Regions from separate parts of the Homo sapiens genome. Here all the other regions are linked to region 3. The links are contacts of gene promoters, found by promoter capture Hi-C in human tissues and cell types (Jung and others, 2019). All regions are on one chromosome and are shown on one strand. Each heading gives the region's core, a stretch centred on a gene start or on the middle of the fragment in contact. The rest is flanking DNA. Distances are from core to core; before and after follow the strand shown. Region 1 overlaps SLIT3 (slit guidance ligand 3). Region 2 overlaps SLIT3 (slit guidance ligand 3). Region 3 holds the start of SPDL1 (spindle apparatus coiled-coil protein 1). Region 4 overlaps SLIT3 (slit guidance ligand 3). Region 5 overlaps SLIT3 (slit guidance ligand 3). Region 6 overlaps SLIT3 (slit guidance ligand 3). Region 7 overlaps SLIT3 (slit guidance ligand 3).

Evidence for each region. Contacts are between HindIII fragments. The study calls those that stand out against the background at their distance.
Region 1: a fragment that was not itself captured here is called in contact with the fragment with the promoter of SPDL1 in region 3 in 2 of the 25 tissues and cell types used here (adrenal gland and pancreas).
Region 2: a contact is called between a fragment that was not itself captured here and the fragment with the promoter of SPDL1 in region 3, in 3 of the 25 tissues and cell types used here (dorsolateral prefrontal cortex, mesendoderm cells and thymus).
Region 4: a fragment that was not itself captured here is called in contact with the fragment with the promoter of SPDL1 in region 3 in 2 of the 25 tissues and cell types used here (aorta and hippocampus).
Region 5: a contact is called between a fragment that was not itself captured here and the fragment with the promoter of SPDL1 in region 3, in 1 of the 25 tissues and cell types used here (dorsolateral prefrontal cortex).
Region 6: a fragment that was not itself captured here is called in contact with the fragment with the promoter of SPDL1 in region 3 in 1 of the 25 tissues and cell types used here (mesenchymal stem cells).
Region 7: a contact is called between a fragment that was not itself captured here and the fragment with the promoter of SPDL1 in region 3, in 1 of the 25 tissues and cell types used here (mesenchymal stem cells).

What each region holds. Positions count from the first base shown.
Region 1 is chr5:168,797,485-168,800,731 of GRCh38, reverse strand. All of the region lies in intron 9 of SLIT3 (slit guidance ligand 3), which reads left to right. Among named protein-coding and RNA genes, the nearest start is that of MIR218-2, 31 kb to the right of the region's middle. The HindIII fragment of the contact is 8,813 bases long and covers 1-3,247 here.
Region 2 is chr5:168,921,315-168,925,016 of GRCh38, reverse strand. The region is part of intron 4 of SLIT3 (slit guidance ligand 3); the gene reads left to right. Among named protein-coding and RNA genes, the nearest start is that of SLIT3-AS1, 90 kb to the left of the region's middle. The HindIII fragment of the contact is 6,328 bases long and covers 1-3,702 here.
Region 3 is chr5:169,582,455-169,585,727 of GRCh38, reverse strand. It overlaps SPDL1 (spindle apparatus coiled-coil protein 1), which reads right to left and starts at 1,955. Exons shown (of 12, transcript NM_017785.5): 1 at 1,839-1,955. It overlaps LOC105377714 (a long non-coding RNA gene), which reads left to right and starts at 2,067. Exons shown (of 3, transcript XR_941200.3): 1 at 2,067-2,345. RefSeq lists an enhancer at 1,328-2,328. The HindIII fragment of the contact is 9,913 bases long and covers 1-3,273 here.
Region 4 is chr5:169,027,944-169,031,730 of GRCh38, reverse strand. All of the region lies in intron 4 of SLIT3 (slit guidance ligand 3), which reads left to right. It overlaps SLIT3-AS1 (SLIT3 antisense RNA 1), which reads right to left. Exons shown (of 5, transcript NR_109897.1): 3 at 1,275-1,345. Among named protein-coding and RNA genes, the nearest start is that of SLIT3-AS1, 17 kb to the right of the region's middle. The HindIII fragment of the contact is 4,139 bases long and covers 1-3,787 here.
Region 5 is chr5:168,870,399-168,873,897 of GRCh38, reverse strand. The region is part of intron 5 of SLIT3 (slit guidance ligand 3); the gene reads left to right. Among named protein-coding and RNA genes, the nearest start is that of MIR218-2, 100 kb to the right of the region's middle. The HindIII fragment of the contact is 7,819 bases long and covers 1-3,499 here.
Region 6 is chr5:168,902,817-168,906,247 of GRCh38, reverse strand. The region is part of intron 4 of SLIT3 (slit guidance ligand 3); the gene reads left to right. Among named protein-coding and RNA genes, the nearest start is that of SLIT3-AS1, 110 kb to the left of the region's middle. The HindIII fragment of the contact is 3,318 bases long and covers 388-3,431 here.
Region 7 is chr5:168,743,350-168,747,063 of GRCh38, reverse strand. The region is part of intron 20 of SLIT3 (slit guidance ligand 3); the gene reads left to right. Among named protein-coding and RNA genes, the nearest start is that of MIR218-2, 23 kb to the left of the region's middle. RefSeq lists enhancers at 1-490, 491-1,063. The HindIII fragment of the contact is 5,187 bases long and covers 1-3,714 here.

The DNA of each region.
Region 1 (3,247 bases), core at 398-2,897, 780 kb after region 3:
ATACCAGGTGTCTACACACAGCACAGGTTGGGAATGGCTTTTCTCAGATATGCCTACATTCCTCATCTTCTCTATGGATCAAACATGTAAACTGGATGGGAGAGTCTAATACACTTTACCTTTCTTTCTTTCTTTCTTTTTTTTGAGACAGAATTTTGCTCTCATTGCCCAGGCTAGAGTGCAATGGTGTGATCTTGGCTCACTGCAACCTCCGCCTCCCAGGTTCAAGTGATTCTCCTATCTCAGCCTCCCAAGTAGCTGGGATTACAGACACCCACCACCATGCCCAGCTAATTTTTTTGTATTTTTAGTAGAGATGGGTTTCACCGTGTTGGCCAGGCTGGTCTCAAACTCCTGACCTCAGGTGATCCAACCGCCTCAGCCTCCCAAAGTGCTGGGATTACAGGCGTGAGCCACTGCGCCCAGCCAACAGTCTACCTTTCTGAAGAACCATGAGGACCAATGGTAAAGAAAGAGAGAGGCCAGAAAGGGACTGCCCCAGAAGGTGGGCCCAGAGCATAACCTTGAAAGGAACCTTCCTTTTTAGCCTTCTTCCAGCATAGGGAAGCATCAGGAACTGAACCTTTGGGGTCTAAGTTGTCTGGTCCAACCAACTAGCCCAGGATGACTTAAAGGAAGAATAAACATGGGGCTTCCTTCCTTCAGCGTGATCTGGACATCCTAACAAGAGTTCCCAAGTCAAGGAAGGCTGAGAGAGATGGGAAAGAGTTAAGAAACCACAAAAGTGGCTTCTGGGTGGGAGGCAGGATAGCCTAAGGGTTAAGAACACAGGGACTTCAACCAGACCAACCTGGATTCAAATTCAGGCTCCACCATTCACTAGCTACCTGACCTTAGGAAAATTGACCTCTTCGTACCATTATTTCCTCATCTGTAAAATGAGTACATTAATAATACTACTTGGTTCATAGTACTGTTGAAAAAAATAATTTGAGCCAGTGTGCAAGGAAGACAGTGTCTGACATATCAAAAGCCCTCAATAAATGGTAAATGTTCATATTATCACCACCACCACCACCACCAATGTTTCCACACACTCCAGGACCTTTTAACCAGGTGACTTGCAGACATGCCCCTGTGCCGGCCGTGCCCCTGCCAGGCTCCCTGGCATCATGTTGACTTCTGTATTGCTAGAAATATATTGTGTTTAGTCACATGTTTGCAAATGACAGATCATTAAGGAAGCATCTGAGGAACTAGGGCAAATCAATACAGAGCACAAATGGCTGAAATCCCCATCAGATGTTCCCATTGTTTTTGCTGGTGCGGGAAGACACTCAGATGTTTGATTTGTATGTTTGTTTTTATGCTAGTTCTATTAAATCAGTTTGCAGCCTGAAGAGTGTTTGCCAGACAAAGAAAGACACATGTGCCAGTTAAGAGAGACCTAAATCAGCTGTTGGCTTCAGACACATCCCTAAATGTGACAGTTTTTGCTGATGCAAATGCTTCTTTTTGTCCTTTCCATTGAGCTTTTCACACTAGGAGTCTGGACCTTTGCATCCTTGTTCTAGGTTGCAGGACTAGGCTAAGTGCAAAGACTTCCAGGAGTACCTGCTGCACAGAGACTGCATGTGAACCTGCACACATGTGTGCACACTTTCCAACCTTGCTTGCATGACAAAGGGGCCATTTTCCCTGTGGATGAGCTGGAAAGGACTAAGAAAATGAAGGCCCTTCAGCTCCAAATGGCATTCAGCAAAGCCTGGTGATTGAGAGTCTGGGCTTTGAAGTCAGATGAACTTGGCTTTGAGACCCAGCTCAACCTCTCCCTGACTTTGTGAATTTGGGCAAGTGACTTAATCTCTCTGAGCCTCAATTTTCTCATGTTTAATGTGGAGGTGGTAATAACTAATAAGATCTGACTCATAGAATGTGACTATTAAGTCAGACAGACCATGTGAAACTCTCAGCCTGGTGCCTAACAACTAAGCACCTGATCCATCATAGCTCTTGGTGGTAGTGGTGGTTATGGTTATCCCTCCCCTTTCCTTTACTTTACATTGAAGGTACACAAACTGTTCGCAACCACGCTCCCACTGCAGACAAATTCCTGCTGCCTCCTGGGGCAGGGTTGACCCTCATCATGCAATGGCCTTGGCACTCCAGGAGGGGCTGGGTGTTCAGCCAGTGCCCAAAACAGCCTGAGAAGCTGAGTAACTGCAGACAAGAATGAAACCCAGGCCAGGCGTGGTGGCTCACACCTGTCATCTCAGCACTTTGGGATGCTGAGGCAGGAGGATTGCTTGAAGCCAGGAGTTTGAGATAAGCCTGGCCAACATAGTGAGACCCCTCTCTCTACAAAAATAGAAGTTAAAAATTAGCCAGGCATGGTAATATGGGCCTGTGGTCCTAGCTACTCAGGAAGCTGAGGTGGGAGGATCACTTGAGCCCAGGCGTTCAAGGTTGCAGTGAGTCATGATCACACCACTGCACTCTAGCCTGGGTGACAGAGCAAGACTCTGTCTCTTAAAAAAAAAAAAAAAAGAAGAAGAAGAAGAAAAGAAAACCAAAAGCCAGAGTGAGCAAGTGTGAGGGGTGCAGGATGCAGAGCAAGATCTCTGCCAGGCTTAACAGGCTAAGCCTGGAATTCTTTTTTCTTCGTTTGGAAGCCACACCTTTGTACTCCATTTATATGTCTTATGTGTATTCACATCTATATTTCATCTTCTCTGGGCTCCTGCAGCTTTTCCCTGAATACCTACTTCCACAGAGACTGCATGACGTCTCTGTGTGTGAGCCCTGGGGTCCTAATCCCTTAAACTGTTCTGTGACTTTGAGAAAGTCCCCTTCAGTTCCTCCATTTTCACAAATATATAGAGGCAGCATATCCAATGGATAGAAACAGAGATATCAGTTCTGCCCGTTCCTGGCCCTGTCACTTTGGACAAGCTATTTGATTCCTCTAGGTTTTCTTTTCCTCATCTGCAAAATGGGGCCAATATGGTTTACCTCACAAGTGGAAGGATTAAAAGAGATAATAGACATAGTCAATTAGACCCCATAAATGATGGCTCTTGATGTTTATTATGGTAGCAATAAAATTTGGTTCTGTGATGCTCTTGGGCTGGTCTCTCTCATCAGATTCTCAGACTCCTTGGGGCCAGCGTCACATCATGTTCCTTGATTAGTCTCTCCCTCAATTCTTGCACCCATCATTAAGATGGAGGGTAATTGATTAGGAACTGCATAGAGAGCCCACAGACCTCACACCCAGTGCTAGCCT
Region 2 (3,702 bases), core at 401-2,900, 660 kb after region 3:
GCTCGATAAATATTGGTTGACTCTGAAACTGAAATCAGGGCTGATTTCATCTTAGTGGAGGAGGCAACTGCTTACCTTATGATGGGATCTCAGGGATGCGTTCTTTCTTTCTCCGCTCTGCTCTGCAGAGTCCACTTACCTGCTCGTTGGTTTCTTGAAGAAAACAACTTTGCCAATTAGAAACAAGGCTCAAAACTCAAATGCAGCTGGGTGCGGTGGCTCACGCCTGTAATCCTAATACTTTGAGATGCCAAAGCGAGCAGATTGCTTGAGCTCAGAAGTTCAAGACCAGCCTGGGCAACATGGCAAAACCCCATCTCTACAAAAAGTACAAAAAAAATTAGTAGGGTGTGGTGGCATGTATCTCTAATCCCAGCTACTTGGGATTTTGAGGTGGGAGGATTGCTTGAGCCTGGGAGTTCAAGATTGCAGTGAACTGTGATTGTGCTGCTGCACTCCAGCCTGGGTGGCAGAGGCAGAGTGAGCTACACACACACACACACACACATACACACACACACACCCTTACACACCCTTAAATGTTCCTTATTAATTATACTGGCTTGCATTGAACTGAGGTGTAAGTGGTCGATTTGGACTCCTTTCCTAAAAGAAGGGTTTGAGAGGGGAGGAGTGAGAGAGATGGAGGGTACTGGGTCCCAACCCGCAGGAAGGAGAGAAGCAGGACATGGGAAGAGGAAGCCAGGCAAAGACTGGGGGCTAGGAGTGCCCTGGATCCCAAAAGTCTGTGCCCCAGAAACACATGGTCCAGTCCAGGCCGACACATGACCACTTAGCTCCATGTCTATGGCTCCTGTGAGTGGCCAAAAGTCTGCCACCATGACTGAAATGACAGAGCAGAAGGGTCAGAGGTGTGAAGAGAGACTGGAGAAGCAGACGGGTCAGATCATGCAGGGCCTTGTGGACCCGGGTACAGACTTCTATCTAGTCCAGTGGTTGGCAAACCCATTCTGTAAAGGACCAGATATTATTTTAGGCTTTGCAGGCCAGACAGTCTCTGTGACCCTATTCCATTCTGCTGTTGTGGTGCAAAAGCAGCCGTAGACAACATGTAAATGATTGAGCGTGGCTGTGTTCCGGTAACCTTTATTTCAGGCAGCAGGCTGGATTTGGCCCACAGGCCATAGTTTGCCAATGCCTGGCTTAGTCTAAGGACACTGAGAAGCCTTTAAAAGATATTGGCAGGACGTGATGGCTCATGCCTGTAATCCCAGCACTTTGAGAGGCTAAGTTGGGTGGATCACGAGGTCAGGAGTTCAAGACCAGCCTGCCCAACATGGTGAAACCCAGTCTGTAGTAAAAATATAAAAAGTTAGCTGGGCATGGTGGCAGGTGCCTGTAATCCCAGCTAACTGAGAGGCCGAGGCAGGAGAATTGCTTGAACCCAGGAGGCGGAGGTTGCAGTGAGTCGAGACTGTGCCACTGCACTCCAGCCTGGGCAACAGAGTGAGACTCCATCTCAAAAAAAAAAAAAAAAAAGATATTTAGGAAGGGGGTTACCTAATCATATTTATGTTTGTGAAGAGCCCTGTGACTTAAGGTGGAAGGTAATTGTCAGGAAGCAGAGGGATTTGAGTAGCCCAGTTGAAGGGATGGTAGCTTGGGGGAGGATGCTGCCAGTGGAGGTGAGAAGTGGACTGAACAGATATTTGGGAGTAGAAATGCTAGAATTTGGTGGTTGGTCAGATATAAGGATTAGGGAGGGGGAGCTTCAAGACTGACGCCCAGAACTGTGGCTCGTAGGATGTTCTGGGGCTTAGCTTGCTCACCCTGCTGTTTATCTGCCATCCTGTGGTTTGTTAAACTGTTTCCCCCAAAACATTCTCAATCAAGGCATTTCTCTTCAGTGTATGGATTCACCTGTCATTGCCCCAGTCCTAAAGGTTCCGAGCTGGAATGATTCTTGACTCTTTATTTCCTACAAGTCCCCTCTGCTCCCATCTAGTCAAGCACATGATCTGGTAACTCCGCTACTCAACCTCTTAATGAAAGTATCCTCACTTTCCGTATCTACTCAGTTCTAAGTTCAGATGCTAAGACTTTCGCTACATATGTTCAGGTATTAAGGGAATCCCAAAATGTTTGTCGAAATCACTTCAGTTCCTGCATTTAGGATAGTGAGAGTTCACCTAGCATGCAGCACTCATAGTTTCATATTCAACACAAGCACCTGGCCCTAGCTGAGCCCTCTTTGTCTTAGGCCCAGACCTCTTACCTGTGTATTTATCTCCCTTATCATCAGTTGATACATCACTGCCTGATCAAGCTTCATGAAGCTCTGTTCCTGTGTACCTGCTGGAAAAACTTCTGATGGTTGCCCATTGCCTCCAAACTGAAGCTCCTTGCCCTTTCCCTGGCACTCCAGCATCTGCAGTTGAAGACCAGCTCTGATCTGTGCCCTTTTTCTCTCTCTCTTCCCCTTGCAGACTCCTTAATCTTGGTCAGCCTGTTCTCAAATGCATCATGCACGTTCCCACCTCTACGGATTTTTACTTGCTATGGTTCCCACCTTCCACTTCTTTTTTTTTTTTTTTTTTTTGAGACAGAGTCTCGCTCTGTTGCCCAAGCTGGAGTGCAGTGGCACAATCTCGGCTCACTGCAAGCTCCGCCTCCTGGGTTAACGCCATTCTCCTGCCTCAGCCTCCCGAGTAGCTGGGACTACAGGCACCCGCCACCATGCCCGGCTAATTTTTTGTATTTTTAAGAGAGACAGGGTTTCACCATGTTCGCCAGGATGGTCTCGATCTCCTGACCTCATGATCCACCTGCCTCAGCCTCCCAAAGTGCTGGGATTACAGGTGTGAGCCACCGCACCTGGCCTCACTTCTTGTGTTCTATACAGAATTGAAATTAATTATTTGCAGTTTGAAACCTTGCTCCTTGACTTACTAACACTGCAGCATGGGGCCAGTTACTTCTCAGAGCCTCAGTTTGCTCATCTGTAAAATGGAGTTCATTTCATTAACCTTGCATGGTTGGTATATGGATTAATATAGAAAATTCCCATAATGCATTTAGGATATGGCAGGTGTTCCATAAATATTGCTTTTCTTCCCCTATACTTCCTAAGAGTGATTTACATAATTAAATGAGCTCATAATTAAATGAGCTTAGACCAGTGTCTCACATGTAGTATGTGCTCAGTAAAGGTTAGCCTTTTTGTTCTAATTTAATTTGAAGAAGGATAGCATTTATAAACAAAGTGTTCTCCTTCTCCTTGTCATTCCATCATTATGATAATCAGTTCTGGGTACTCAAAGATCAAGGATGCTCCCTGAGCGGGTGGGAGGAAAGTAAGCAGCTTGGAGCCGGGACAGGAGATGCAGCCGGAGGAAAGAGGAAGGCATTAAATGTGTACATTTCCCAAAATCAACATCACCTAATTTTTAATTTTGCTAATGGCTAGTCTTTAGTTGAGATGTCATGCTGAAATAACTCTTTTAATAAAAGAGAACTAATGCGCTCATTTTTCCCCTTCCTTCCTCTATATCAGCAAAGACTTGGTGCAATGATGTATATCACCCTTTTATTTTAATTAAGCATATAGCTTTGAGAGGCTTGTAAAAATGTTGCCAACAGAGAAATGCTTTAACAGATGTGAACTTGAGGTTGGCTTCTCCCATATATCTTTACTACAGAAAATTGCCCTCTTCATTTTGTACGTGAGGTGAATGGATGAGC
Region 3 (3,273 bases), core at 706-3,205:
AAGGTGTTCTAGGTAATCCCAGCTTGGCAGTCACTGCTCTAAAATGCAAGACCTTTTCAAAGCCTGTACATGATACGGCCAGCCAACTAAATGTTGTACTGTTCACAATAACTTACATTCGTTGAGGATTTACCATTTGCCATGCTAACTGCTTCAAATATATTATCTCATCTAATTATCTTGATGAGCTTGAGTTAAGTAAATACTGTCATCTCAACTACCAAAATAAAAATAGGGTTAACCTCAAGACATTCCAGCCAGGCATATCCAGAGAAGCCAAAAAAAATTTGCTTTAGTTTATTCAAAAAATTTGCTGGAATTCTTATTGTGTGAGACATTGTGCTAGTGTTGACAACACAATGGCAACCTAAAACAATATTCCTGTCTTCTTGAATCCTAGTCTATTAGTAAAAGACATTAAATCAAGTAATTGAACTATCAAGTTACAAGTATGATAAGTGCAAGAGAGACAGATGTATGCTACCTGAGCCTGTAACAAGGGGGAGCTGTCCTAATCTGGGGGGCAGCGCGTAGAAGGGAACATGGACAAAAAAATTTTCCTGAGGAAGTAACTTTTCAGCAGAGGTCTAATGGATGAGAAAGAGTTAACCTATCAATCTACAAAGAGAGATAGCCGTGGTTGATTAAAAACTACTAATGTGTGACAGACATTGTGCTTGGTGCTTTATACACATTCTTTTTTTTTTTTTTGAGACGGAGTCTCGCTCTGTCGCCCAGGCCAGACTGCGGACTGCAGTGGCGCAATCTCGGCTCACTGCAAGCTCCGCTTCCCGGGTTCACGCCATTCTCCTGCCTCAGCCTCCCGAGTAGCTGGGATTACAGGCGTGAGCCACCGCACCCGGCCGCTTTATACACATTCTTATTCAATCTTCTCAACAACTTCAAGAGGTTGAAGGTATTTCCCTCATTTTACACATGCAAGCTGAGGCATAGAAAGTTTTAAGTAACTTGCTTAGGGTTACCCGCAAGTTAAGACGCGAAGTGTGATGGGAACTAGAATCTACCTAGAAACCATGGTGCTGCAACCATTTTTCCTGTCCTGCTTCTCAAAAATATAGCACACACAAAGCATTTGGGACACAGGAAACTCTGGGAATCAAACTGCCTGAGTTCTTACCCCGCCTCCACTACTCACTGGCTGCATGAACTTGGACAAGTTATTTAATTTCTGGTTTAATCATCTATAAAAACAAGCACAATAACACCCACCTAATCGGTTACTGAAAGGATTAAATGAGATAACGAATGAAAAGCAATTAGGGTAGAATCTGACACACGGCTGGGGCAGTGCTGTCCAGCAGAAATATAACGCGAGTCATGTACGTGATTTTAAATGTTCTAGGAGCCATCATGATTTAAAAAGTAAACAAAGATGAAAAATTAATTTACATATTTAAACAAATACACTCAAAACATCATTTCAACATGTAATCATTATAAAAATTATTAATGAGATATTACTCCTTATGCGCTATCTCTGAAACCCAATATGTATCTCCCATCTGCACCATTTCTTAGTTCGGGCTAGAGGCTACCGTACCGCACAGCGCAGATCCAGTGGCGGTTATAATTTTGAGGACCCGGCAACCGACCCAACGTTCCATATTTGTCCAGAATCCCTGAGGGCGGCGAGGTGGTCCAGCGGAAGATAAGACCGGCTCGGAACCCAGTGTATAAGACCCCAGGGTTCCGGGGAAGGAGATGTTTCAGCTAAAGGCCTCGGCCGAGACCCCGGCCCCTAGCTTTCTTTAGGGCCTGTTCGACTCTCCCCACTGCCGCTCTCCACACCCACCTCCCACCAGGCCCCTTGCCCCTACCTCTCACGCTAGTCCCCTGCTGCCGCAGCCAGCGGCTCCTAATGGGAGCTCAGGGCGTCCACATTGAGGACGCTAACTCCACAGTCGCCGGCCCATTCGCTCAGCTAGCTCTCGAGTAAGCGCCTGGGATATTTGAATGCAGTTCCCGCGAGAAGTCCCACGTCTCACGAGACGTCCGCCCAAGCCGCGCGGAAAGGAAAAACCAAGAGAAACGCCCAATGGAGCGCCCACCCCCTCCTACAGCTACTGCGCATGTGCAAGTGGCGCGCCGTGGGCTTGGCGCAGGCGCAGGCGCAGACGTGGCTCCACATAAATTTTTCCTTGGGCTGGTTTCCTGCATGTCTTTTAAGTATTTGCTTTTAGTTTCCGTGTTTTGGTGTTTTGTTTGTTCGTTTTTTTTTTTTTTTTGTTTTTACGACAATGCCTTCTAGGGGAACAGTGTCGCTGGGCTGGGCGGTGGAGAGACACCTTTGGCACCATCGTGCGATCTCATGCACCCTACCAGTGGTAATACTGGCGTTAATATTTAAGTTCCCACCATGTGTTAAAGTTTACAGATTATCTCAGTTAAGCCCGCAGCCTTATGAGGCAGATATTACTCCTCGTTTTCTACAGAGAAAAAGCCCGAAGAAAAAAAGTGCCTTGTCCAAGTGGTAGAACTAGAATTGAATGCAGTCTTAGAGTCCAAGCTGTTTGCATGTGTTTTTAATAATAATATTTTGTAACCCTGATGCCTATTCAAAAATTGAAGCGATCAGAAATAATAATAGATAACATTTAATGAGCACTGATGAGTCCTAGTAACTGTTACATGAATCATGTCGTTCTTTCGAGCCCATCTTTTCTTGCCTATTTGAGAACTTGGCTCTAACTGCTCTTTTTTGCATCTTCAGTTTTTTCTTCTCTATTGGATCTTCCCTATCAGTTCATAAACATGCTGCAGTGATTGCCATAAAATCATTTCATGATTTCATTTTTTAAAAAATCCTCCTTGACACCAATCGGCAACCACCCCATTTGTTTTCTTCTCTTTATAACAAAATTTCTGGGGAAAAAAAATCTTTACATCCATTATCTCCATTTTCTTACCTTTTGTTCTTTTGTTTGTTTTTCCCACTTTAACCAGGATTTGGTCCCAACCAATACTATGAAGTGGCTCTTGTTAGGTTTACCAGTGATTCCTACCTTGCAAAATTCGGTAGTCAATATTTAGTCCTCACTTCTGGTGAAATTTGACAGAGTTGCTTGCTCTCATTGATTTGAGTCTTTATGTCTTGGGATGCCACACTCTCCTTGCCCTCTTCTTCTCAGTTTCTTTTGCAGACTACAATTTCTGCCTGAGCTAAGCCAGACTCAAAGGGTTGATCTGAGCTTTAAGATTGGCAACAAATTGCTCACAGTGTTGTCTCACAGATTTATCTGGGACTCCAATGAA
Region 4 (3,787 bases), core at 657-3,156, 550 kb after region 3:
TGCTGTGTATGAATTCGATGCCCTGCTCCTCCTGACCCCGTCTCCCATCTCCTACTACTCTGTTCTTGCTCACTGGGCCCCAGCCAGCTGTGTCTCCTCTGGATTTCTCAACCAGGACAAACACTTGCTGCATCATGCCAGACGGTGCTGTTCCATGCAGCAGGTGTGCCCTCCCAAGAAAATCTAGCTTCGGTGTAACCTCCATGAACTGTAATTCCCTGACCTCCTGTTTGGGTGAGACCCCACTCCTTGCTCTTTCATGCAACAAACAGATCTTTCCTGCATAGCTTTTATTACGATTTGGAATTATTTATTGGTAAGATTATCTGTTTCAGATCTATCAGAAGGCATCTTCTATGAGGGTAGAGGTGAAATCACCTCCATATTTTTTTTCTACCCCTCTAGTCCCAGACGCAAACACAGTACTTAGCACATAGTAACTCAACAAATATTTGTTGAATTAATGAACAGAATATGAAATGGCTGAGGGGTAACTTTCCTACTCTGAGGACAAAGTGCAGTTTTCACTGCCTACACTGATCACAAGCCAGGGAGTCTGAAATGCTTGCAAAAACTTCAAGGCTTCCCAGGGCCATCTGCAAGGATATTATCCTGAAGCCACTGCTTACACCTGACTAGTACGACTACTATGCTGGATACTCAAGACAGGAAATGAGGACCTGTCAGGGGCTTCTAAGTTGCTATTCAGGAGAGGAAAGCTTTTAGTTAAACCAGTGGTAGAATACCCTGAGCCCTGTCTGCCTCGCCTTTCCAAGAAGAAGCATGCAAGAGCCCGAGGGTCACAATTTTAAAACCACATATCTAATAGATAAATACAGAACCAGAAATTAGAAAGCCGTATTCTATTCCCAACCATACCACGTTCTACTTCCGAGCCAATAAGTTGCTTTTATTGGCCAAACTTCAGTTTTCTTACCATTAAATAGATGTAATATTGTTTATCCTCCTTAACTCATATGATTGTTTTGTGGATAAAATAAGACAAAGATGAAAATATTTTGAATAGGTAGAAGTACTTTACAGTATTATTTGAGCCTGAGTTACACAGATAGGGTTTCTTCTCCTTAGAGGCTTCAAAATTAAGGAAGATGCACTGATTTCCATAGATACAAAAACATTCCAAAGACATAAACACAGTGAAAGGACAAATGCATTATTCATTGGCATTATGGATTTAGGTGGGTGGTCAGAAAGAAACAGTGTTCTATAATAGATCTCCGCCTGCGGATCAGGAGTCCTGGGTTTGAACCTACCTTGTCATCCATTTACTAGCTGTGCCAGTTTGGTAGGTCACAAAATCTCTGAAAGCCTCAGTGGCCCCCATCTGTAAATTGAAGAGGGAGGGTGAGAGTGGGTGGGAAGTGGAGAAATAGTAATGATATTATGATAGTTTGGAGGATCAAATGAAAAGTGGACTAGGAAAGGCCTTTGGAAACAGTGAAGTGACTTAGCAATGCAAGGCATTAGTATTATCCAAGCATTTGTGTGTTTAGCCAAGGGGCAGTCAGAAAGTCGTCAGGGAAGGCTGCCCAGAATAGCAAAGAAGTATCAAGAATGACTTAAATAATAGCAGGGAGAGGGCAGGTCTAGTCAAAGAACAAGTTTCAGGGGAGGGTGCAGCCTAGGAGAGGGCAGGTTTCCAAGGGGCTGGCAGGACCCAGCCAAGGTGGTGGGTAGCTCCCCTCTTTCCAAAAGCTGAAGTGGTTCCTAAAAGCCCTGGATTACAAGGCAGAGGACAGCATTCAGGTGGGGAGAATGTGTTAAAAGGATCTCAAGTACACTCAAGGATGTTTGTTTTTGATTAGAAGATGAGGATTAACTGGATTAATGGAGCCTCATGAATGGAGAATGTGCAGATGCTAATTGCCCCTAAATTACAGTGGATTCCATTGGAATTGTGTATTCCTCTCCACAAACCCAACCACTGCCTGCCTGCTCTCTCCTTCCCTCCCTCCCCACACAATGCTAAAATGAATGTGTCATTGTAACTGAGATGAAAGGCCTTGAAATTGATTTTCTACTTCCTTCCAAGATCTCTTGTTTGCAAAACACAGGAAGATGTAAGTTACTAATCGAGTTCCAGTTTATTTCAAACAAACAAACAAAAAATGTATTCTAGGGATTCAGTTGCTGGAAGGCTTTTTCAAGCCCTCATTTCTTGCTTAGTTTCTCTGCCACACCAATTAACTTAGTGGTTCTCAAAGTTGAGTGCACACCAGAATTACCTGGAAACCCTGTTAAAACAGATTGCTGGGCCCCACCCCACAGTCTCTGATGCAGTAGGTCCGAGGAGAGGACCCAAAATTTGCATTTCTAACAAGTTCCCCCAATGACAGCTATAGTGCTGGCCCAGGGCCACCCTTTGAGAACAAATGAACTAGGAAAATATCAGAGTATTTTAAGGAATCTGGCTAACAAAAAGAGTGCAAACCTCAAAGTCCTGTGGCTATGTCTTCTCGGAGAAAGTGGTGCAATCACTCAGAATTCAACAAATACCTACTGTTTCCTAAGTCAGCTATGCATAGATTCTCTTGGATTTGGTGAAGCTTACGGATAGCTTATGGGATCAACTTGCTTTGCTATTGCATGGGAAATGCAGAAGAATTTGCAACTGGGGTGTTTTCTTCCTGGAGTCCCCACCCATTCCTCCTCCTATCTGGTTTGCACACCCCCTCTTCTGTTGATTATACATGTCAAGTGGTGTTTTCACAGCTCCACAGCCATCACACACCTCCAGACCCCTGAACACTCCCTTTGCCTTGAAGCCACCAATATATGTCCAGGCCTATTCTACATTTATTTATAGGTCACTTTTGTGCAAGGCCTGGGCTGCTTTTGCTAGTGTTGCCAAAATTTTGGAAAGCAGTGGAATCAACACATTTTGGGTTCTAGCTCTCACCTTGCCTCTAGGTTACCATGTGATTGTCGAAAAAATACTTAAACCTCTGGGTAGGATTTTACTCATCAATTAAAGAAGTTATTAGTCTAGCTAGCTTAGTGGTTCTTCTCCTTTTGGGGGAAATGAAAATGAAATGTATGGACCTCTTCCTAGGAAAGTGGACATGTGCAAATAAATGCAAAATATTGCTCACAATTGTTAGACTGCCTGAATAATAATATAGTAATAACAAGCAATGATGATTATAGCATTTATTAAGTGCCAACTATGTGCCAGGCACTGTACAAGGCACTTTACATGTGTTATATTTAATCCTTGCAAGAATCCTAGGAGGTCACAATGCCCAGTTTCTAGATGAGAAAACCGTGGCAAAGACAAGAGAATTCATCTCAGTTCACCCAGCTGGTAAGCGCACAATGGGATTTGTGGGAGCCTACACAGCCCTGAAGCTGACCAATGGTCCTCTGGGACATGTATGACCCTGAGTTAAGAGTAGACGCAGTTCTAGGTGATAGTTCAAGTCCCCCTGAGCTCTGAAGTACATAATTCACAGATTTTTTTTTTTTCCCATCACTAATAACCAAACATTTGGAGAAATAACCCCTGGCATTCTTAAGGCTTCTGTGCATCAGAGGTGGTCACAAGGTTTACAATTTAAAGAATATTTGGGGATTAAACTCAGAAAACCAAGCCACCACAGTGCCACACTTCTGTCTTTTGTGGGTGTCTTAAAAATGAATGCTTTCTTATCGTAGTTTCTGACCAGAGGCAGCTTCCTTTAAAGGCTAAAGGAAGCAGCCCGTCTCAGCTCCAGCAGGTCAGTAATGTGACGAGATAAAGGGCAGTTCCTTAATGAAAACCACTCTC
Region 5 (3,499 bases), core at 788-3,287, 710 kb after region 3:
TTCGTTGATGTTCTGATTCTTTATCTTATTGGGACCAAGTGAGTATAGTGATTAAAAGTATGAGTTTTGGAATCAGGTTTGGTTTTTTTTTTCAGCTTTGCCTCTCACTACCTATGTGAGCTTGGGCAGGTTTCTCAACTCTTAGTCTATAAAATAGAGAAAATACTAGTGAGGAGTCCAGGAGGGAGAAACTCTGTGCCTCGCATTTGTACGTTGCTTTCTGGTTTGCACGCAGCCTTCACGTGTATTATCTTATCTTTGAGAGAGAGAGAAAGTAAGTCTCGCTGTCAACCAGGCTAGAGTGCAGTGGCAGGACCTTGGCTTACTGCAGCCTCTGCCTCCTGGGCTCAAGCGATCTTCTGCCTCAGCCTCCCAAGTAGCTAGGATTACAGGTGTGAGCCACCACACCCGGCTAATTTTTTTTTTTTTTTGTAGAGACAGGATTTTGCCATGTTGCCCAGGCTGGTCTTGAACTACTGGGTTCAAGTGATCCGCCTGCCTAAGCCTCCCAAAATGCTGGGATTACGAGTGTGAGTCACTATACCGGCCATATGTATTATCTTGTTTAATTACTGCAACAGTCTTGCAGGACCACTAGGGAAAAGTTGCTTATCCTCTAGGTATAGAGGTGGAAATTGAGGCTTAAATTCAGAAACTCTCCCAAGGCCACAAGGCCACAGAATGGGTCATGGCAAGGCTACAGCGGGATCCCAAGATTAGCGTGGACTCTCAGGCAGTGTTTTTCTGAGAGATTGGCCGGGAAAAACCCTGAGATTTGGTGAGCATGGAGGGATGCCTGGAAGGAAACAGCAGATACAGACAGATTCATGGGGAGTGTTGGAAAAGCATTTCTGGCTTGGTATCAGCCAAGACCCAAGGTAGGAGCAGGCTGTGAAGGTCACAGTTGGGACAGAATTTCCAAGAAGACCATCAAGATTGTCTGAAAGTATGAACTTTTGGCCAGGCACAGTGGCTCATGCCTGTAATCCCAGCACTTTGGGAGTGCAAGGCAGGTGGATCATGAGGTCAGGAGATCAAGACCATCCTGGCTAACACGGTGAAACCCCGTCTCTACTAAAAATACGAAAAATTAGCCGGGTGTGGTGGCGGGTGCCTGTAGTCCCAGCTACTCGGGAGAGGCTGAGGCAGGAGAATCACTTGAACCTGGGAGGCAGAGGTTGTAGTGAGCTGAGATTGTGCCACTGCACTCTAGCCTGAGCGACAGAGTGAGACTCTGTCTCAAAAAAAAAAAAAAAAGAAGAAGAAGAAGAAGAAAAGAAGAAAGTACGAACTTTAAAAAAAAAAAAGACTTTAATTTTTAGAGCATTTTTATATTTTTAGAGCATTTTGAGGTTTACAGAAGAATTGAGTGGAAAGTGTAGAGAGTTTCCATATACCCCCAACACACAACCATACAGTTTCTCTTGCTATTAACACCTTGCTTTAGTGTGGTATGTTTGTTACCACTGCTGAGCCAATATTGATACATTACTAACTAAAGTCCCTAGTTTACATTAGAGTTCACCGTTTGGTTTGTACGTTGGATGGGTTTTGACAAGTGTGTAATGACATGTATCCACTATTACAGTGTTATACAGAATAGTGTCAGTGCCCTAAAATTTCCCTGTGTCCCACCTATTCATCCTTCCTTCCATTCCCCCAAACCCTCAAGTGTGAGCTTTTAATCATGCAGGTAAATTCTTTCATTTTCACAACAGCTTATATTTATTTGGTTTTTCATACTCTCAGATAAGAGTCTCCTTTTTCTTCTTTGAAAAAGGGTAAGTGACTCCCATGTGTCAAAGTGCATAGAGCAGGTCAGCAGGACAGCCAAGCCCTGACTCAGCTTCCCAGCCACAGTGTGAAGCGTATGAGTGTGAAAGTCTCTCCTTCAGAGAAAAGACCAGTGGTCCAAAGACCCTGCCCATTCCCGTAGCTGTGCTTCCCCAAAGAATCTCTGAGGAGGTTGACATAATGGTGAAGTGCTCAGACTCTGGAGTCAGGCTGCCTGGAGTCAAATCCTGGTTCTTACCACCTTTATGACCTTAAGCAAATTGCATGCCTCCTCCTTAGCCTCAGTTAACCCATATGTTAAGTGGAAATAATATAATCCCCCTTTATGATGTTGTTTTGAAGAGTAGTAATTATTATTGCTGCTTTTATTCCATCTCTGAGAATTAACTAGGCCCAGGTTATCACATCTTAGAGACTAAATCTTCCCTTCCTAGACAAATATGTGCCCCCAAAAAAAGTCATATTTATAGTTTCCTGGCTCTGAAATGACCCTCCCTAACTAGTAAAGATATTTAACTTCATCACTCTTTCTGTTATTTCTTTGAGTGGGGCTGACCTCTTCCGGCATATGGCTTCTAATGGGCTAGGTATAAAGTAGGCCAGAGAAAAAGAGGGTGTAACTTCCCTGCCCTGTCCCTTCCTCTTGTCCCCACCAAGACATGGAAAGGACGAAAAGAACTGAGGAGTCCCAGCTCCGCTATTAACCGCTGCCTGCCTAGGGTAGGCTGAAAAATGGCTCTTCTAAAAATGCCTACATCCTAAACTCTAATGTATGTGAATGTGTACTCCACATAGCAAAAAGGATTACAAATCAAGAATTCAGGTTCTTCAAGTGGATAGATTATCCTGGATTATTTGAGGGGATCCAATGTAATCAGAAGGGTCTTCATAAGAAAAAAGACATGTGCTGGAAGCAGAGAGAGAGAAAAGACCACGTGATTCAGGGAAGGAGGACAACCCCGATCCTGGAAAAGACAGGAAAACAGATTGTACCCTGGGGCGTCCAGAAGGAACGCAGTCCTGCTGACACCTTGACACGAGCACAGTGAAACTGATCTAGGACTTCTGACCTCCAGCATTCTAAGACAATAAATTCGTGTTATGTTAAGACGCTCAGTTTGTGGTAATTCGTTATAGCAGCCATGGGAAACCAGTACTAGAACCACCCTCAGGCTGTCACCAAACCCTGTCGTCTGGATTTCCTCTTCTATTAAAATAAATCATTGACATAAAATCAGTGAATTTCACCTTGTATTCTGAGAAACTCTGGTGCTTCAAGAGCCCACAAATAGTTATTTTCAACAGTGATAAAGATTTAAATTGCCTCTTTTGACATTAGTGTGCAACATGAGATTTTGTGTCACAAAGAGCCTATGGGGAGAAAAAAGGCTTGAAAAATAACCACTGGACTTGATAAATAATCTTTCAGGTCTACTCATATCACAGAGTTTGATGGTTCTTTGAGGCCATCTTCCACCAGGAAGGAGCTAGGTTTTGTCATTGAGGTAAAATTCCGTGGCAGGGTCAAGAAGCCAGCACCAGGTAGGGACAGCATAAAAGAGAATCAGGATAATGCCAGGTCTCTGGACTCAGAGCTGGACTTTGGAAGCTCAACTCCAAGGTTGAGGGTCTGAGCTGGGCTCACTGTGGGAGGAAAGGAAAGGAGAAGGGTTGGTGTTGACTGGGAGGTGATTACCTGGAATGG
Region 6 (3,431 bases), core at 797-3,296, 680 kb after region 3:
TAATTTGGTCTGGCAGTTTTAATCCTTACTGTATTTTTAAGTATAATAGCATAGTACGGTATGTTCAGATTTTCTTTTCATTCTTCTTTCCTTTCTTGAACATTAAAATATTGGGCAAGGTGGGGAGAGGAATGTGATCTCTTCCTTATGAAAAAACACACCACCTACCCTATTTTGCAGACTCCATGGAATGTGGGGTGGAAATTCGGGCTTGCTGATGATTAGAGTTCAGGACTTGCTGTTTCTACAGCTCCAGCTGAGTCCTCAATAGATCTTCGTATCTCTTTCGCGTTCACCTCCTTTAATGCTTTGCTTCCTGGCACTCCAGAATGATTGGTAATATTAAATCAGGGAGATACCACCTTCTTCTTTCCAAAGTCAAAAAGTCTAGACATCATCTCTGTGCCCACGTGTGCCTAAATATTTCCTTCTTTCTAAATGGGTGATGGTGGAAAGGCAGGGCAGGCATGCTAACCCAGGCTCCTCCAAGGAAACGCTGTGGTTCAGCAAGGGGTATACGAGTTTCTGGAGGCAGACAGACATGTGGAATTCCAATACCACTTTTCCCTGTACCCTAGGGAAAGTTGCCTAGTATTTGAGCTGTAGTGTCTATATATGTAAAACCAGAATAGCAGTACCTGCTTCTGATGTTTTGAAGTTGAGATGAGCACACTGTAGATGTGTTCACCTCTCCGAGTCTGTGTACAGACCTGAACCATGACTCCTCATATTTTATAGTCACACACTACTTTCCTTGCCTTTTCTTTGCAGATACATGATCGTACTTCACTACTGTTGAATAACTTGCCTTCTGATTAACAAAATATTAAGGATATCTTGATAATGAAAAAACAATTTTCAAAAGAAGAAGGCTGCACCAGCAAGCATACAGGTGTTGACAAAAATAGAAAGGCCCTCTGACTGGGGAGGATCTAGGTACATTTGCACCCAATCAGCCAGCAACATGGAGGAGGAAAAAGGATAGAAAGGGATTATGCTCTTATGGTGCTTCATGGGTGCACCTCTGTTGATGAGCAGGGTTTGGACATCCCCATTTTTTTTCTTTTTTTTGGAGATGGAGTCTCGCTCTGTCCCCAGGCTGGAGTGCAGTGGCATGATCTCAGCTCACTGCATCCTCCGCCTCCCGGGTTCGAGCAATTCGCCTGTCTCAGCCTCCCAAGTAGCTGGGACTACAGGTGCACGCTGCCACGCCCAGCTAATTTCTTATTTTTATTTTTATTTTAGTAGAGATGGGGTTTTACTATGTTGCCCAGGCTGGTCTCAAACTCCTGAGCTCAGGCAATCTGCCCGCCTCAGCCTCCCAAAGCGCTAGGATTACAGGCGTGAGCCACCACACCCAGCCGGATATCACCATCTTTGTAAAGAAGGCTGTGAGTTTGTAACATTGAGAAAACCCCAGGAATGTCTAGAACTCCTGTGGCAGCCTGGGGCGTCCTTGTGCTGCTGAAACTGGCACAAACTGCCCTCCCCCAGAGACCAGAGGCCTGATCCCTCTTGTTTGGGGTTTCTCTAATTGCACACACATGTCTATCAGAAATGTATGATCTCCATAGCAGTTCACCTTCCTGACGTCATTCTTGTCCCCAGAGCTGGAATTAGCATTTTGCAGTGAAGTCTGGGAGTTTTTTCTATATTCAGAAAGGGACATTGAAGGCTATGCCAAAAGGCTTAGAAACATACTAGCACATGATAAGTAAAGATGAATGAGGTATTATTATTATTATTATTATTATTATTGTTATTTCTAAAGTAAGATTTTCTGGATTAGCCCCACAGAGGAGAGTCAGAGGCTTTGATATTTTATAACTGCCTCTCTGAGGGGAGCTGATTTGTTGCTGTGAATACCAAAAGACTGATTATCAGGACTGGAGAATTAGTCTATTTGGTTTATTTCCCCCCATTGGAACCTTCTCACCAGTCTTCTACCAGAAGCAAACTTAGCAGAAAAGTCCAGGAGGGAAACAAAGGTTTATTTTTTTAATCCAGAATGTGTGATCCCCAAGTTGGCATGGTAGTCAGCAAGTGCAGGCGAACAAAACTTTGAGTCTTCATTGTCTCCCCCTACTCAGCACATCTCTAAGCTTCTGGGAGCGGAGTGAGAATGAGGAGGGCGCTGGACACAGGGGCAACAGGGCCTCAGTTTCAGTTCCCACTTTGCCAAGTGCCTCACACAAGGTATTTACCTCATGCCTCAGCCTCCACAGTAGTAAATTGAAGGGGTTGGTAAGGTCCAAAATACATCAAAGTGCTCTAAGCTACTGGGGTTCAACAAACTCAGTTCCCCTGTCATCCCACCCAGTGTCCCCACTTCGATCAGAGAAGCTTCAGTGTGATGATTTCTGTACATCAAGGTTTTATGGAAATGCCCATTTGACAAAACAATTCTACATTTGGTTATTTAATAATAATTCAAACCAGTGAACGAGGTGCTGGGAGGGACCGCCATGATTCTCTGATCTTTATGAATTGTAGAGGGGGATCATAGTGGGAGGTCAGGGACAATAACAGAGAGGAGAAGAAAGGAACAAGATGGGCAAGGCCCTCCAGGAGGGCCAGAGACAGGCCTTTGTGTTCCAGCCATGCATGCACAGCAGAAGGACCATTCCTGAAGACCCTGCTGCCCCCGTCCTTCACTCCATGCCCCCACAGGTGTCCTCTTTTTGCCCGAGCAGGTAGAACAAAGAGCAGGCAAGTCAGGGGTCATGCCCTGGCTTACTGTGACCTTGGCATCATGCTGCAAAGCCTCAGCCCTCTGATCTAGAGAATGGGATCCAGCTCTCACCTCAAATGAAACACAGGTGCTGAGAGGTTTATAACTCATCAGAAAATGCCAAAATAACTAAAGCCCTGACAGGGAAAACTGTGCTGGAACAGGAAATTTCAGCTTCCAGGGACACCAGGTTTGCACCCCCAGGAAGCCTGGCTGCTTGTGAATTCCTTGTCTTTTCATCTCCAGCCCTATGTGTATGTGGAGACTCACGGCTTATCCCTCACTGCAGAGAACTGAACGAGGAAGAGGCATATGGTGAGAGAGTGCCAGTCTGTGGCTTTTTAAATGAAAATTTACATGTAAATATGAATTAGCTGAAATATCAGTTATTTTTTAATTGGCTCTTCAAATCAGCACAAGGAAAACCTGTGCCTGTTGGTCTGCTGATTGAGTGATGTTGGCTTAGAGATTCTCATCAACAGTCAATGAAGAACTACACTCTCTCCTGCTGGAAACCCTTCCATGGCTCCTTCTCGTCCTCAGATCATATCCAAATAAGATCCCATCTGCCCATCACCTCCTGTCCTCCTAATCAGCCGCTATTCCCATTCTCATTCACTCAGCCACTACCCCCATTCTCATTCAACAGCCTCCCCTGCCCATGCTAACCACAGTCACCTTCATCTGCTTCTCAAATTCA
Region 7 (3,714 bases), core at 696-3,195, 840 kb after region 3:
AGGAACAGCCTAAGTGCCTGAGCAGCAACACACCCACAAACCCACACCACACACCACCACACCACACACCACACATCCACACCACCACACACCACACACCACCACACCCACACCACCACACTCACACACCACACACCACCACACCCACACCACCACACTCACACACCACACACCACCACACACCGCCACACCCACACCACCACACTCACACACCACACACCACCACACCCACACCACCACACTCACACACCACACACCGCCACACCCACACCACCACACTCACACACCACACACCACCACACACCGCCACACCCACACCACCGCACACCACCACACACCGCCACACCCACACCACACACCACCACACCCACACCACCACACACCACCATACCACCACACTCACACACCACACACCCACACCACTACACACCACCACACCACCATACTACACACCACACCCACACCACCACACTCACACACCACACACCACCACACACCACCACACCCACACCACCGCACACCACCACACACCGCCACACCCACGCCACCACACTCACACACCACACACCACCACACACCACCACACCCACACCACCGCACACCACCACACACTGCCACACCCACACCACCACACACCACCACACTCACACACTACACACCACCAGACACCACACACCCACACCACCACACTCACACACCACACACCACCACACACCCACACCACCACACTCACACACCACATACCACCACACCCACACCACCACACCCACATACCACCACACCACACATCACCACACCCACACACATCTGATGCTTGACTTTGACATCTCTTTTGCCAGGCCCCATGCACATCCCCTTTTCTGGGCCAGGTTAGCACGTACAGGCATACCTTGGAGATATTGTGGGTTCAGTTCCAGACCACCATAAAGCACAAACTGCAATGAAGCAAGTCGCACAAATGTTTTGGTTTCCCAGTGCATATCGAAGTTATGTTTATACTATACCGTAGTCTATTAAGTGTGCAATCTCATTGTGTTGGAAAAAAACCAATGTACCAATGTACATACCTTAATTCAAAAATGCTTTATTGCTAAAAAATGCTAATGATCCCCTAAGCCTCCAGCGCGTTATAATCTTTTTCCTAGTCGGGGGTCTTGTCTTGATGTTGATGGCTGCTATCTGATCAGGGTGGTGGTGGCCAACATTGGGTGGCTATGGCAATTTCTTAAAATAAGACAGTAGTGAGGTTTGTCACATCAATGGAGTCTTCTTCATGAAAGATTTCTCTGCAGTACACAATGCTGTTTAACATCATTTTCCCATAGTAGAAGTTCTTTTAAAATTGGAGTCAAGGTCAGGTGCCGTGGCTCACGCCTGTAATCCCAGCACTTTGGGAGGCCAAGGCAGGTGGATCACTTGAGGTCAGAAGTTCAAGACCAGCCTGGCCAACATGGTGAAACCCCATCTCTACTGAAAATACAAAAATTAGTAGGGCATGGTGGCATACGCCTGTGATTCCAGCTACTGGGGAGGCTGAGGTATGAGAATGGCTTGAACCTGGGAGGCAGAAGTTGCAGTGAGCCAAGATCGTGCCACTGCACTCCAGCTTGGGCAATAAAGTGAGACTCTGTCTCAAAAAAAAAAAAAATTGGAGTCAGTCCTCTCAAATCCTGCTACTACTTTATCAACTGAGGTTATATAATATTCTAAATCCTTTGTTGTCATTTCAACAACGTTCACAGCATCTTCACCAAAAGTAGATTCCATTTCAAGAAACCAATTTCTTTCCTCATCTATAAGAAGCAACTCCTTATCTGCTCAAGTTTTAGCCTGAGATTGCAGCAATTCAGTCACATCTTCAGGCTCCACTTCTAATTCTAGTTCTCACTATTTTCACCATATCTGCAGCTACTTCCTCCACTGAAGTCTTGAACCCCTCAAGGTCATCCATATGGTTGGAGTCAACTTCTTCCAAACTCCTATTAATGTTGCTATTTTGACCTCCTACCATGAATCACAAATGTTCAAATGGCATCTAGAACAGTGAATCCTTTCCAAAAGCTTTTCAGTTTACTTTGCCCAAATCCATCAGAGGAATCACCATCTATGGCAGTTATGGCCTTACAAAATATATTTCTTAAATAATAAGACTTGAAAGTTGAAATTACTCCTTGATCCATGGGCTGCAGAATGGATGTTATGTTAGCAGACATGAAAACAACATTAATCTGTGTGTACATCTCCATGAGAGCTCTTAGATGACCAGGTACATTGTCAGTGAGCAGTAATATTTTGAAAGAAATCTTTATGTTTGTGCAGCAGGTCTCAACGATGGGCTTAAAATATTCAGCAAAATATGCCATAAACAGACATGCCATCATCCAGTCTTTGTTGCTATATTTCTACAGCACAGGCAGAGTAGATTTAGCATAATAAAAGCCCTAGGATTTTCAGAACGGTAAATGAGTATTGGCTTCAACTTCAAGTCACCATCAGCAGTGGCCCCTAACAAGAAAGTCAGCCTGCCCTTTGAAGCTTTGAAACCAGGCATTGACTTCTCCTCTCTATCTGTGAAAGTCTTAGATGGCTACTTCTTTTAATAAAAGGCTATTTTGTCTCCACGGAAGATCTGTTGTTTAATGTGGCCACCTTCATCAATTATCTTAGCTAGATCATCTGGATAACTTGCTACAGCTTCTCCGTCAGCACTTGCTGCTTTACTTTACACTTTCCTGTTATGAAGATAGCTTCTTTTGTTTTGTTTCGTTTTGTTTTGAGATGGAGTCTCGCTCTTTCACCCAGGCTGGAGTGCCGTGGCGCAATCTCGGCTCACTGCAAGCTCCACCTCCTGGGTTAATGCCATTCTCCTGCCTCAGCCTCCCCCTTAGCTGGGACTACAGGAGCCCGCCACCACGCCCGGCTAATTTTTTGTATTTTTAGTGGAGACAGGGTTACACCATGTTAGCCAGGATGGTCTCGATCTCCTGACCTTATGATCCACCCGCCCCGGATTCCCAGAGTGCTGGGATTACATGTGTGAGCCGCTGCGCCCAGCCGGCTTCTTTTCTTAAACCTCATGAACCAACTATTGCTAGCTTCAAACTTTTCTTCTGCAGTTTTCTCACCTCTGTCAGCCTTCACGGAATTAAGGAGAGTTAGGGCCTTGCTCTGGATTAGGCTTTGGCTTGAGGGAATGTTTAGCTGGTTTGATTTTTCTATCCAGACCGCTAAAAGTTTTTGCATGTCAGCAATAAGTCTTTCTCATGATTCATGTGTATATTGGACTAGCACTTTTAATTTTCTTCAAGAACTTTTTATTTGCGTTCACAATTTGGCTATTTGGTCCAAGAGGCCTAGCTTTGATCCGTCTTCGTTTTTGATATGTCTTCCTCACTAAACTTCATCATTTCTATCTTTTGATTTAAAGTGAGAGATGTGTGATTCTTAGAGGCCGTTGTAGGGTTATTAGTTGGCCCAATTTCAATATTGTACTTTGTCTCCGGAAATAGGGAGGTCCGAGGAGAGGGAGACAGGGAACAGCTAGTTGGTAAAGCAGTCAGAGCACACACAACATTTATCAATTAAATTCATCATCTTTGATGGGCATGGTTCGTGGTGCCTCAAAACAATTACAATAGAGACATCAAAGATCACTGATCACAGATCACCATAAAAGTATTATAATAATGAAAAAGTTTTAAATATTGTGAGAAT